Linked DNA regions of Homo sapiens: region 2 is linked to region 1. The links are contacts of gene promoters, found by promoter capture Hi-C in blood cells and fetal thymus (Javierre and others, 2016). All regions are on one chromosome and are shown on one strand. The core of a region is centred on a gene start or on the middle of the fragment in contact, and the rest is flanking DNA. Distances in the headings are between cores, read along the strand shown. Region 1 holds the start of CNKSR3 (CNKSR family member 3). Region 2 overlaps SCAF8 (SR-related CTD associated factor 8).

Region 1 (6,048 bases), core at 1,053-3,552:
CTAACCAGCCACATTTCAAGGGCTGCAGAGCCACAAGTGGTACTGGTTACTAAGTTGGACAGAGCGGCTCTAGAAGTCAACAGTAGCTGAAATTTGCAGTGTCTCAAGTTGGCTCTATGAGGGACATACAGATAAAATACATATCAACTCAGTTTCAGGAAGCTGCCAGCCTAGGGAATTTGGCAGCATCTTGAATGGAGGAACACACCTCATTTCAAGCTAGCGTGGGCATGGATGGCTTTTAAGCTCATGCTTCCTACCAAGTACTGGCAATGCCACTTACTCTTTACCAAGGGAAACCTAGTCACCAAGGCAGAAACATGTGTTGTTTTTAGCTTCATTTTATATAGGAGTCCAGGAAATTCTGCTCACTTGACAAACCCGTTCTCAAGGAGTTCTCCCAGAGGAGCAGGAAATGGTCAGACATACCCACTGACACACCCCACACACCTCGGACATCCTATTCCACGTGGTCTATGTGTAAGTCACAGGCGTGAGAAATGAGATGTAGCGGTGATCAGTTTTCATTATGCTGCAGCCATGGGTGGGACGGTTTGAAAGACGACCTGGTCTTACCAGTATTACCTACCTCACAGGCTTACTGTGATGACCAAGGACAATAACAGAGAGAGCTCTTAGCAAACTGTAAAGCGCTACACAATTCTAGTTATTACTGAGAAAGAACACCATTCCTCACCTGGAAGAGCAGATAGAAAAACAAATAGTAACTTGAAACAGAGATGTCGTTGGGGGTGGGGGGAAACCATGAAAATACAGATTGTTCTTGGTGGACTTTGTTCTCTTGAAAGTACAGAAAAGGGTTGAGTAAACTCTAGTACCTTTCCCTCGAAATCGTAGGAGACATTGAAAAGTAAGCGAGCCAGCTAGGAGGACAAGCTTCTACCTCTGCTCATTCCCCCCACCACCCCCCCACCGCCCCAGCCCCACTGCCTTCCTCATCCCAAATATTGTATGAATCAAGACAGTGGTTCCAAACAATTATATTTCTCCTTCCCAGTGCTTACATGTGGCCTGAAAATGCAGCGCCACCGGGGATACTGGCGCCTCCCGGAGCAAAAGTCACTGCCTCCCGGGGAGTCCTGGCTCGAGGTTTCTCCCTGGCGCAAATGCTATGGTGTTGGCTTTTGCGCGGCCCTCTCGCCTTCTCCAACAAAAACAGACAGGCTCGGCGGACCCGCCGGAGTCTCCCTCTACCTGTCCGACAGCCCTGTCACGCCTGCGGACGGCTCTGGGCAGGCGGCATGGACGAGGTCCCGCGGGAGTCACCCACACAAAGGCACCTTGTGCCTCTGCACTCGGGCCCCCGGGTCGCCGGGCACCGCACCGGGGCCAGGCAGGGAGAGCGCCCCCCGGCCCGAGTGCCGAGTCCCGAGATCGGCATCCCCAGCCCTCAACCGCCACAGAAAGGCCACCCCTACTCCCTGGTTTAAAGATAGGGCTCCCCTCGGCTTGCCACAATCCGCACCCTGGAAAGGAAGAGCTCGGAGCAGGTACGAGAGATAGGAGCGCACAGGCCACTCGGCAGAAGTTTGCATTGTCACCGGGCTGTGCCCTCACCGCTTCTCGCCGGGAGGAAGGGCCAAGTACCCTCTTCCCCAGCTCCTCGTCCGCCCCATCCCCGAGGCTGGAGGACTCCGGACCCCCCCAAGGCCCGCGCACCTCTAGTCCAGTCCACCACTTGTTTGGGGCTCCACTTGGTCACGGGTTCCATGGTAAACCGCTTCGCCTCTCGCTGGGCTGGAGAGTCGCAGATAAAGTGCTGCTGCCTGCGCTCCGGTGCCCCTTCCCGGGAGGGCGCGCCCGCGGCTGCTCCCCTGCGCCCGAGCGACTCCGTCAAGACTGCATGGCCGCGGTCAGCCAGTCGTCCCAGCGCGGCTCCGCCAGGGGAGCCCGGCCCTCTCCCTCCAGCTGCCACAGTCCAGCTGCAGCTCCTCCTTCCCCCGCCGCCGCCGGGATCCCGGGCACAGCTGCTGCTCCCGAGCGACGGCAGCTGCAGGCACGCCGGGCTGCGACCCCAGACCCCTGGCCTCGGCTCGGCACGGGAGCCTCCCGGCCCGCGACCACTTCCTCGGATCTCTCGAGGCGCGATCGGCTCTCCCTCGGCCGGTCTTCTCGCCTGCTGGCTCTCCGGGGTCCCCGCTCCGCGTGCGCTGGCGTCCCGGAGCCTTCCCGGCGCAGGTCCCACCTCCTGCGCCGCCCTCCCGTGCCGCCCTGGCAGGGCCGAGCGCAGAGCGTGCGCGCTCGGGTTGCAAAGTTTCAGCTCCGGTTGCTGCAAACCGAATAAAAGAGAGGGCGGGGCCGAGGGTCTAGGGAAACTCGTGGGAGGGGGCGGGTCCGCCCGAAGCGGCGGACTCGGGTTACTTTCCCTCTCTAAGCCGGTCCGGCTCACACCCGCAGCGTCCCGGGCCCCGCTTTCCTTTTCAAGGGGCGGGTTGTAGATCGCGCGCGCACCCTGGAGAGCCCGCTGGTTTGTGTGAGGCCCTGGCCCTGTGGGTAGCAGAACACTCTGTCTCGCTGTGAGCAACAATACACTAAAAAAAAAAGAAAAGAAAAAAAAAAGTAAGATCTGCATGTTCTGTTCATTTTAAATGCTTTATATCGTAATACTACTCTGCCATTAAGCCGTCATTTTAGGTTTCTTAAAGTAGAACAATTTTTTTTTTTAGATGGAGCCTCGCTCTGTCGCCCAGGCTGGAGTGCAGTGGCGCGATCTCAGCTCACTGCAGCCTCTGCCTCCCAGGTTCCAGCGATTCTCCCGCCTCAGCCTCCGGAGTAGCTGGGATTACAGGCGTCTGCCACTACGCCCGGCTAATTTTTGTATTTTTAGTAGAGACAGGGTTTCACCATGTTGGCCAGACTGGTCTCGAAATCCTGAACTCAGGTGATCCGCCAGCCTCGGCCTCCCGAAGTGCTAGGATTACAGGCCTGAGCCACCGCGCCAGGCCAGAACAATTTTATTTCATTTATATGTTGACTGAAATCGTAACAATGTAACTCTTTTAATGCTATTGCTATGAAATTTCAACTTTGCGACTAAAATTAGATTGATGGCTTTTAGCGTTATATTTTGCTATATTATAATTTCATATTTACAGAGTGAGCTAATGCTCCTTGGGATTAGTCATTAACCGTGAGAGGAAAGCTGTTAGCCAAGAAAAAAAAAATAGCTCGTGCACAATTTCAGCGCCTGGCAGGGGAGGGCCCTTCCACATTCATGGACTGCAACTGGGGCCAGAGTTAATGCTAAACTGGGGGAAAATCTAATTTGAATGCCTGCCTCTCCTTCAAGTTCTCCCTGCATCCTAACCGCCCCCCCAACCCCTGCCACCCTCGCCACCACCCCTCCCCTCACCCCCCAACACCCCCCCCAACCCCCCACCCCCGCCCCGCCCCGCCCAGCAACCTCTTCCTCCCACTCTTTTTGGCACTGAATGATTCTTACTTTCAATTACGGTTATTTATTTACATCTTCCTCTTGGAGACTATTAACCCCTTGAGGGCAGAACCTACTTGATCTCATATAGAGTTTTCTCTCCTCCCTTTCTTCCTACCACCTAACTTGTAGCACCCAGCACGGGACCAAAGGCAAGGTTGGTATTTATTCATTCAGTAAATATCCGGGAATGCTTCCTATGTGCCAGCCACTGTATTCATTCAGTATTTGTTGAATTCGTGTGATATGTGCTACTTACACAGGTCTGTTTGGACGCACATGTGGAAAAATAGCTAGCAGCCAGCCTAGCATCTGATGAGCTGGAGCATCCAAGCAAAAGAAACATTTTTAAAAAGCAAAACATCAGACCCACCTCCCATTCAACTCCCCTAGAGGACTGGGCAACACAGAGACACACAACTATCAAATATAGTGATTCTTTTTCTTCATCTAGCGAAAGTGACTGGCAGACCACACAAGTTGGCAAAGGCAATGACAAAATTCCTGATATAGTAGTTGTCCTTAAAAAAAAAAAAAGACCTTTAAACTTAATGACATCCAGCATTAACCATCTTTACAGCAGTCAGCAGAGAGAAGGACCTTGACACTGGTTCACTGGAAAGGGTAACCAACCTGATGCACACCTTTTGTTTCAGCAATCACTGCCTGTTGTGTGATTTCTGATTATGATTAGGGTGACCACATAACTTACCTCCAAATCAAAATATTCTTGAGCATGAAAGAAGCAACTATCAAGAATTACATTGGAATAACATGAATAAACTGGGCCATACGGTCCCCACAATTATAAAAGAAAGGTCAAATATTAATGATTTTGCCGTGGAATTTTACTTGATGTTTTCACGTCTTCAGATTCATTGGCAGTAGTCTTTACCAGAAGAGCTAAAACACTAAAATTCTGCGAGTCAAGCAAGAGTTTGCAAAACATCCCACGGAGCCAACACACTATCTATACTTGGTACATAAATACAGCATAGCTAAAGAGGAAGGCCACGCTAAGATCTCTAACCCGGAAGACCAATTAACTATCTAAATGAATTAGCATTCTGTTTACACTTCAACTTCTGGAAGCTAATTACTATTTAAATAAAGCCTTCTACCTTAATTACAGCTGTTAGCACGTGAAAGTTTTAGGGAGGCCTGCCTTCCTAGCTGAAATGCAAACTTGAGGACATACAAAGCTATTAATGGCATACAAAGCTAATAAAGGCAGAATCTTAAGTAAATGGCTTTAAAAATTAAGTATATATAAAAGGATAATTTGTAAATTTGCTAACTTTTCTTCTCTGCTAGCTAAAATCTGTAGCTATTACACCATATGTTCACGCACATTACCAAACTGCAGCTATGCCATCTTCCAGATCAGAACTCTTCATTTGTGTCTTAATGTTTACTACAATTCCTCGCACATACAAGGAGTTCAATAAGCCTTTTTAAAATTGAATTAATATGTAGAACAGATACTAGAACCCAGATCTTCTAGATTTCTTTCCAGCTCTTCCGTTTTTCTGACTTTGACCCTTCTTGCATGTTTAAGTCATTTATTCAGTTGATGAAATACGTATTAGGTACTCACTAAACTAAGCACTAGGAGGATTCAGAAATGATGAGTAGCCTTTTAGATCAAAAACACCATGTGACTTTCTAAAGGTGGATTTCTTCTGTAGTCTTTCATCCAAGGAAAGTGACCTGGTAAATAAACACAAACAAGGGAGTTCGAGGACCAATGTGATATTAACGTTTTAAGCTTGTTCAAAATTTATTACTTCTTTATGTGAGAGCAAGGGATGGAGTATTTTGGATTGGTGGTTATACCTATAATTTGATAAACACAGAGGAGCAAATTAAGCAAACTTTTAAGCAAATTATTAATCTGCAAAAAGCCAGTCTCCTTCCCCAGTTAAAAACAATGTAATGTTTTCCAGAATAAAAGAAAGAAAGAAAGCAAGTTGCTCTAAATATTCAACTTTATTTCGCAATCTGAGGTTCTTCTCTTATTTTCTTTCCCTCACATTTCTTTTTAACTATTTTCAGAAAATTCAAAATTATTTAATTTTTTCACATATAATTGTCTCGTGTATGTTCTTAAGTTATCTTTTATCTTGAGAGATACCAAAAACGTCTGCAGTTTTCTGCCTGGAAAATATCCTACAGTTAGAGCTAAGCATTCTTATCTATGACATTACATCAGTGCAAAGTCATCACTGGTTAACTAAATTATCCAGACTGCTCATGTTCTTGTCTTTCATTTAATTCCATTTGGTCTGAATTCTTCACACCACGGTAATGTAGTTATCTCCCTGAACATGCCAGGTTCCCTATCAGATAATTCAGGTAGTAAAGACTTCAAACTTTATTATATTTTATTTTTCAAGTGCTGCCTCACTTATTCAAATTCTTCTGATCATTCAGGAACGTTAAGTCATTCTACAGTTGGAAAGCTGGTATTTGGCTTTCTTTTACTGAGCCCTATCTCTAACTCAAAGATCAATGTCAATTAGATAAATATTCAAAAACCTCACCTACTTTAAATCATACTTGGAAAAGTTGATTAATCTTTTCTAATAAAAAGA
Region 2 (6,048 bases), core at 1,890-4,389, 280 kb after region 1:
GATGATGTCCGTAGGTTATATGCAAATACTGCCCATTTTATATAAGGGACGTGAGCATCCTCGGATTTTGGTATCTTCAGGGGTCTTGGAACGAATCCCCCAAGGCTACTGAAGGACAACTGTATTTCTTTTTATTCTGAAATTTCTATGTACATCTGTAGAAAAGTACAGAAAACAACATATACAGCCAAATTTTTATAAAGAGAAGACCTATGTAGCTCCCACTCATTTCAAGAAGTAGAACTTTGAAGCCCACAAGCCCCAAGTGCCTCTTCCTAATCATGTCTTGCATACCCCCTACCCAGGTAACCAGTTTGAATTTTGTGTCACGTCCTTGCTTGACATTATAGTTTTACTTTGTATAAAATGAATTCTTAAAGTGGTTTAATGTATTTTAAATTTTTTAATGTAATCCTATGGTATGTATTCTTTTTATACAGTTCTCCTACTCAACATCATGTGTCTAGGATTCATTCTTGTGGTGTGTAGCAGTATTCATTACTATCTGTTGCTGTATATTTTCCATTATGTGAATAGACGGCAGCTTGCCCACTTCTGTTGACATTGTGTGTGTTTTCTAGTTTTTGCAATTCTGAACAGTATTGCTGTGAACAGTGTAATATTTACATATGTAAGGTAATAAATATCCTCATACAGCTTGCATTTCTGTAGGAGTGGAATTGCTGGTTACAGGATATGCATTTCTTCACCATGGCTAGATAATACTAAATTAGTTTTATAATGATTGTACTGATTTACTCTCTTCCTCGCAATGCATGGGTTTGTGGTGCTCCCCATTTTTGTCAGCACTTGGTATTGTTAGATTTAAATTTTTCTAATCTGTCGAGCCATCTTTCTTACATGCCACCATTAGTATTATTCAGTGCTTTGCAGGTACAGCCACATGATTCTGTTTCTACCACTCTAGCTTTGTTGTCTTTAAATTAATATCACTTTTTAGTAGCTGCAGGTGGGAGCACAAATTCTAAAAATAGGATAATTAAGGTGTATTTGTATATTGCAAAATATATGGTCCAACTTACCTAGAAGGTTCTTTGACAAATAACCATAACTGATGATAACCTGCAGATGACAACTTGGATGACAAAATGAAAAATCATGCAAATATACTTAAAGGTGCATTCTCCCTATTCGTTCTTACCTTTCTCCCCCTAAAAAGGCTATTTCTCTATAAAATAAGAAATTGGAAATTACTAGAATATAGTTGAAAAATGGTATATCTATAAAAACTTAATGTGATACGCTTTAGGAAATTATTTAGAGTAAAAATACCGTATGCCATTGTATAACTGCCCAGTGGGTTCACCTTGCCTGCTGCCTAGACAGAGCCAATTTATCAAGACAGGAGAATTGCAATGGAGAATGAGTAATTCACGCAAAGCCGGCTGTGCAGGAGACTGGAGTTTTATTATTACTCAAATCAGTCTCCAAGAGCATTCGGGGTTGGATCAGAGTTTTTAAAGATAATTTGGTGGGTAGGGGCTCGGGAAGTGGGGAGTGCTGTTGGTCAGGTTGGAGATGGAATCATAGGGAGGTCCAAGTGAGGTTTTCTTGCTGTCTTCTCTTCTTGGGTGGGATCGCAGAACTGGTTGAGCCAGATTACCAGCCTGGGTGACATCAGCTGATCCATCCAGTGAAAGGTCTGCAAAATATCTCAAGCACTGATCTTTTAAGATAGTGATGTTATACTCAGGAGCAATTTGGGGAGGTTCAGACTCTTGCAGCCAGAGGCTGCGTGACCCTAAACTGTAATTTCTAATCTTGTAGCTAATTTGTTAGTCTTACAAAGGCAGACTGGTACCCAGGCAAGAAGAGGGTCTTTTTGGGAAAGGGCTATTATTAAATATTTTGTTTCTGAGTCAAACCGTAAACTAAATTCCCTCCCAAGGTTAGTTCGGCCCAGGCCCAGGAATGACAAGGACAGCTTGAAGGTTAGAAGCAAGATGGAGTTGGTTAGGTCTGCTCGCTTTCACTGTCATAACTTCCTCAGTTACAATTTTTGCAAAGGCGGTTTCAATTAGAGAGTCTTAGGAATTCTTGTTTTGAGTCTAATGGTACGTAAAGAGGAAAATTTTAAAGTATTTCAGATTTCTTTGTCTTGATTCTTCTCTCAGGTTTCTAGTTGATGACTTAGCCAAGTTTTCCAAGTATTAAAATTATTTAAAACATTAAATCATACTAAAGAACTTTTTTTGCCATTTTATGTAGCAAAAATGCTAATGTACCAGTGAAGGAAATTCTGTCCCACAAAATGTTAATGTATGTGTATCTAAAGATACTGTGCAGTAAGCTTGCAAGTAAAAGGATTCTTCATTGTGCTTCCCTAACTACATAGGCTAAAAAAGCTTGTGTTGAGAAAGTAGGGGAGGCAGGGCACGGTGGCTCGTGCCTGTATTTCCAGCACTTTGGGAGATCTAGGCAGGAGGATTGCTTGAGCCCAGGAGTTTGAGACTAGCCTGGGCAACATGGTGAAACCAAGTCTCTTCCAAAAAAACATACAGGAATTAGCTGGGCATGGTGCTGTGCACCTGTGGTCACAGCTATTTGGAAGGCTGAGATGGAAGATCATTTGAGCCTGAGAGGTCGGGGTTGTAGTGAGCCATGATGGCACCACTGCACTCCAGGCTGGATGACATAGGATAGATCCCCAGGATTATAGATGTTATATTTGAGAAAAAAAATGGAAACTCTGGCCTCTGTATTTAACAATGTTATAATTTGCCATTTGGCATTGTTCTTTTCATTTGCGTAGGAACCCTTTTGTTGTGTGTTCCAGATGAAGTCTGAGGCATGTTGGCAGTGTGTTTGCTAGAGCCCTTCTTTCCTGAATTTGCTTCTTTCTTCCATGTAGCTTTTCACAGTGGTTAAACAAATTTTAAAAATTATAATGGTACCTTATTTATCACTTTGTTTTATGTCATTGAAGCCAGTTACATAGTACTATTTTAGAACTTCTGATTGTATAGAGTAGCCAAAGTAGATTCTTTAAAATGCCATTCCAGAAACTGATGATATTGGAGTAGTCAATGTATGAATATTCATTACCATAGCATAGGCAATGTCTTTGTATTTACACAGGATTTTTGATGATTTTTGTCTATCAAGAATTTTACCTTTCCGTTTCCTTTCCTTTTCATTCTTCTTTTTTTCATCAGTGTAAACCAGAATACAAAGTACCTGGACTTTATGTTATTGACTCCATTGTGCGACAATCCCGACATCAGTTTGGTCAAGAAAAGGATGTGTTTGCACCCAGATTTAGTAATAACATCATTAGCACTTTCCAGAATTTATATCGTTGCCCTGGGGATGACAAGGTATGCTACTGGTTTTTTTTTTTTGTTTTTTTAAAAGTAGATACAGTAGCCTCTTGGTCTTAATTAGTCTTCAGATTATCTTAGTACAGTCATGTGCCACATAATGATGTTTCAATGACAGACCGCATATACAGTGGTGGTCTCCTAAGATTGTAATACCATATTTTTATTTTACCATTTCTCATTTATGTACAGAAATACCACTGTGTTAAAATTGCCTACAGTATGCAGTACAGTGACATGCTGTACATGTTTGTAGTCTAGGAGCAATGGAATATGCCATATAGTCTAGGTGTGTAGTAGGCTATACCGTCTAGGTTTGTGTAAGTACACATCACACAATGATGAAATCTCCTAATGACGCCATTTCTCAGAACATATCCTTGTCGTTAAGTGGCACAGGACTGTATATTCTCATTTGCTCTTAGTTATTTCAAATTTGAATATTTAATTATTACGGTATCCATATTGCATTTTGTTCTTTGAATTTCTCAAACAGAGAGTATAGAAAGATGTAGCAGATTTGCTACTTTTTAATTTGTTGAAGCAATTGGTGTTAAATAAAATGGCTAAAATAAGCTTTTGGAATTACATGAAACTTATTCACACACACAGTCAATTCAGAATTGTGATTATTTGACATGAGTTGATATTTAACTGCATATTAAAATTCTTCTATTATGGTAGAATTTTATTAATCACACTACTAAGTCTGGTATGTGTAAGATCCAAATGTGTAAATATTCTATAAATAGCAAGTAAAAAAGCTTTGGATCATGAGCGAGCATAAAAAGGAGTTGCTTATCCTTTTATTTGCTCTGAGAGGTTAGCTTATTTATTTTGGATGTTGGAAATTTAGGTGTGCTTTTTCTGACAGGGTTGATTGCAGTGTTGATTTAAGTATGAAAAGATGAGAATAGATGAAGATTCATGTTTGTTTTATGGAAGAACCACAAAACTTGAAAGCTCACCACAAATTATTCACCTTTATATTGAGTATAACAAGATTAAGTAGTTATTTTTCATAACTATTATATAGTCTTGAATCAGAAAAAAATCTTGTTATAATGGATAGCTATGGCGATAAATTTATTTATTTTTTTGAGATGGAGTCTTGCTCTTGTCGCCCAGGCTGGAGTGCAATGGCATGATCTTGGCTCACTGCTACCTCTGCCTCCCGGGTTCAAGTGATTCTCCTGCCTCAGCCTCCTGAGTAGCTGGGATTACAGGCGCCCGCCACCACACTCGGCTAATTTTTTTTTGTATTTTTAGTAGAGATGGAGTTTTGCCATGTTGGGTAGGCTGGTCTCAAATTCCTGACCTTGTGATCCGCCCACCATGGCCTCCCAAAATGTTGGAATTACAAGTGTGAGCCACTGTGCCCGGCCAGAGATAAATTTATTATGCTGTATTCTTTGTGAACTATTCTTGAATATACTCCTTGAGACAGAAAGTTTTTGATTTTTGTTTTTAATTACCTTAGTACTTTAATAATTCTGTGCAGGCAAAAGAATGCTTCTAATTTTTTTTTTTTTTTTTTTGAGACGGAGTCTTGCTCTTTCACCCAGGCTGGAGTGCAGTGGTGCGACCTTGGCTCTCTGCAAACTCTGCCTCCCAGGTTCACGCCATTCTCCTGCCTCAGCCTCCTGAGTAGCTGGGACTACAGGCTTATGCCACCCTGCCCAGCTAATTTGTTGTATTTTTATTGGAGACAGGGTTTCACCGTGTTAGCCAGGATGGTCTCGATCTCCTGACCTCGTGATCCGCCTGCCTTGGCCTCCCAAAGTGCTGGGATTACAGGCGTGAGCCACCGCGCCTGGCCTAGAATGCTTCTTTTAAATGACCTGTCATAATTGATTTTTAAAATAGGTACCTTAGACTACCACTTGAAGTAATGTACTAATCTGAAATTTTATACATGCATTTTTTAGAAGTCACTTTACTGTGATTTAGAAATTTCACTAGTTTGGACTTGGATTTCTGTCAGTTCTGGTGATTAAATCTTTCTTGAATGTGTAGATTTCATAATATAATATCTCATACTAGGGCTTATGGAATAGGGCTTTCTTTTAACCATAGGAGGAGAGAGTAGATTAACATTGTAATCTCAATCATAAATGAAGGACATCGTATGTAGATATATGGAATGATAGTTGTTAGGTGCTGGCCAGTTTTAAAGTATATGATGGGTGGCTTGGAAACGGAAAGATTTTTATATAAAGCAGAAGAACATAAGGCATTTTCCAAGTGCTCATGTTTTAGAGTGGAGAAATAGTCAAATCAGAAAGTATGAAGCAGTCTCTAATTTTCTTGTGCTTCATTTGAAATACACAAATTTGCACATTAATGTAGTTTGGACATAGTTTAAAAATATGTCAGTGTAATATTATGAGGGATTTAAAGTTGAACCAGATCTTTATTCTGAAAATTGCTATTTTACTTTGTAAAACATATACATTTAACAGAATTTTTTTTTTTTTTTTTTTTTTTTTTTTTTTTTTTTTTTGAGACGGAGTCTCGCTCTGTTGCCCAGGCTGGAGTGCAGTGGTGTAATCTCGGCTCACTGCAAGCTCCGCCTCCTGGGTTCACGCCATTCTCTTGCCTCAGCCTCCCAAGTAGCTGGGACTACAGGCGCCCACCACCACGCCTGGCTAATGTTTTGTATTTTTAGTAGAGACTGGGTTTCACCATGTTAGCCAAGATGGTCTCG

The links. The method cuts DNA at HindIII sites, captures the fragments that hold promoters and counts their contacts. A CHiCAGO score of 5 or more calls a contact.
Region 2: a contact is called between a fragment that was not itself captured here and the fragment with the promoter of CNKSR3 in region 1, in 1 of 17 cell types (erythroblasts). The highest score is 5.0, in erythroblasts.

Annotation. Positions count from the first base shown.
Region 1 is chr6:154,508,383-154,514,430 of GRCh38, forward strand. CNKSR3 (CNKSR family member 3) reads right to left here and starts at 2,303. Exons shown (of 13, transcript NM_173515.4): 1 at 1,681-2,303. The coding sequence starts at 1,732. LOC101928868 (a long non-coding RNA gene) reads left to right here and starts at 2,409. Exons shown (of 2, transcript XR_001744422.2): 1 at 2,409-2,580. RefSeq lists a cis regulatory region at 5,562-5,802. The HindIII fragment of the contact is 4,325 bases long and covers 896-5,220 here.
Region 2 is chr6:154,784,685-154,790,732 of GRCh38, forward strand. It overlaps SCAF8 (SR-related CTD associated factor 8), which reads left to right. Exons shown (of 20, transcript NM_014892.5): 4 at 3,177-3,338. Among named protein-coding and RNA genes, the nearest start is that of SCAF8, 54 kb to the left of the region's middle. The HindIII fragment of the contact is 1,551 bases long and covers 2,365-3,915 here.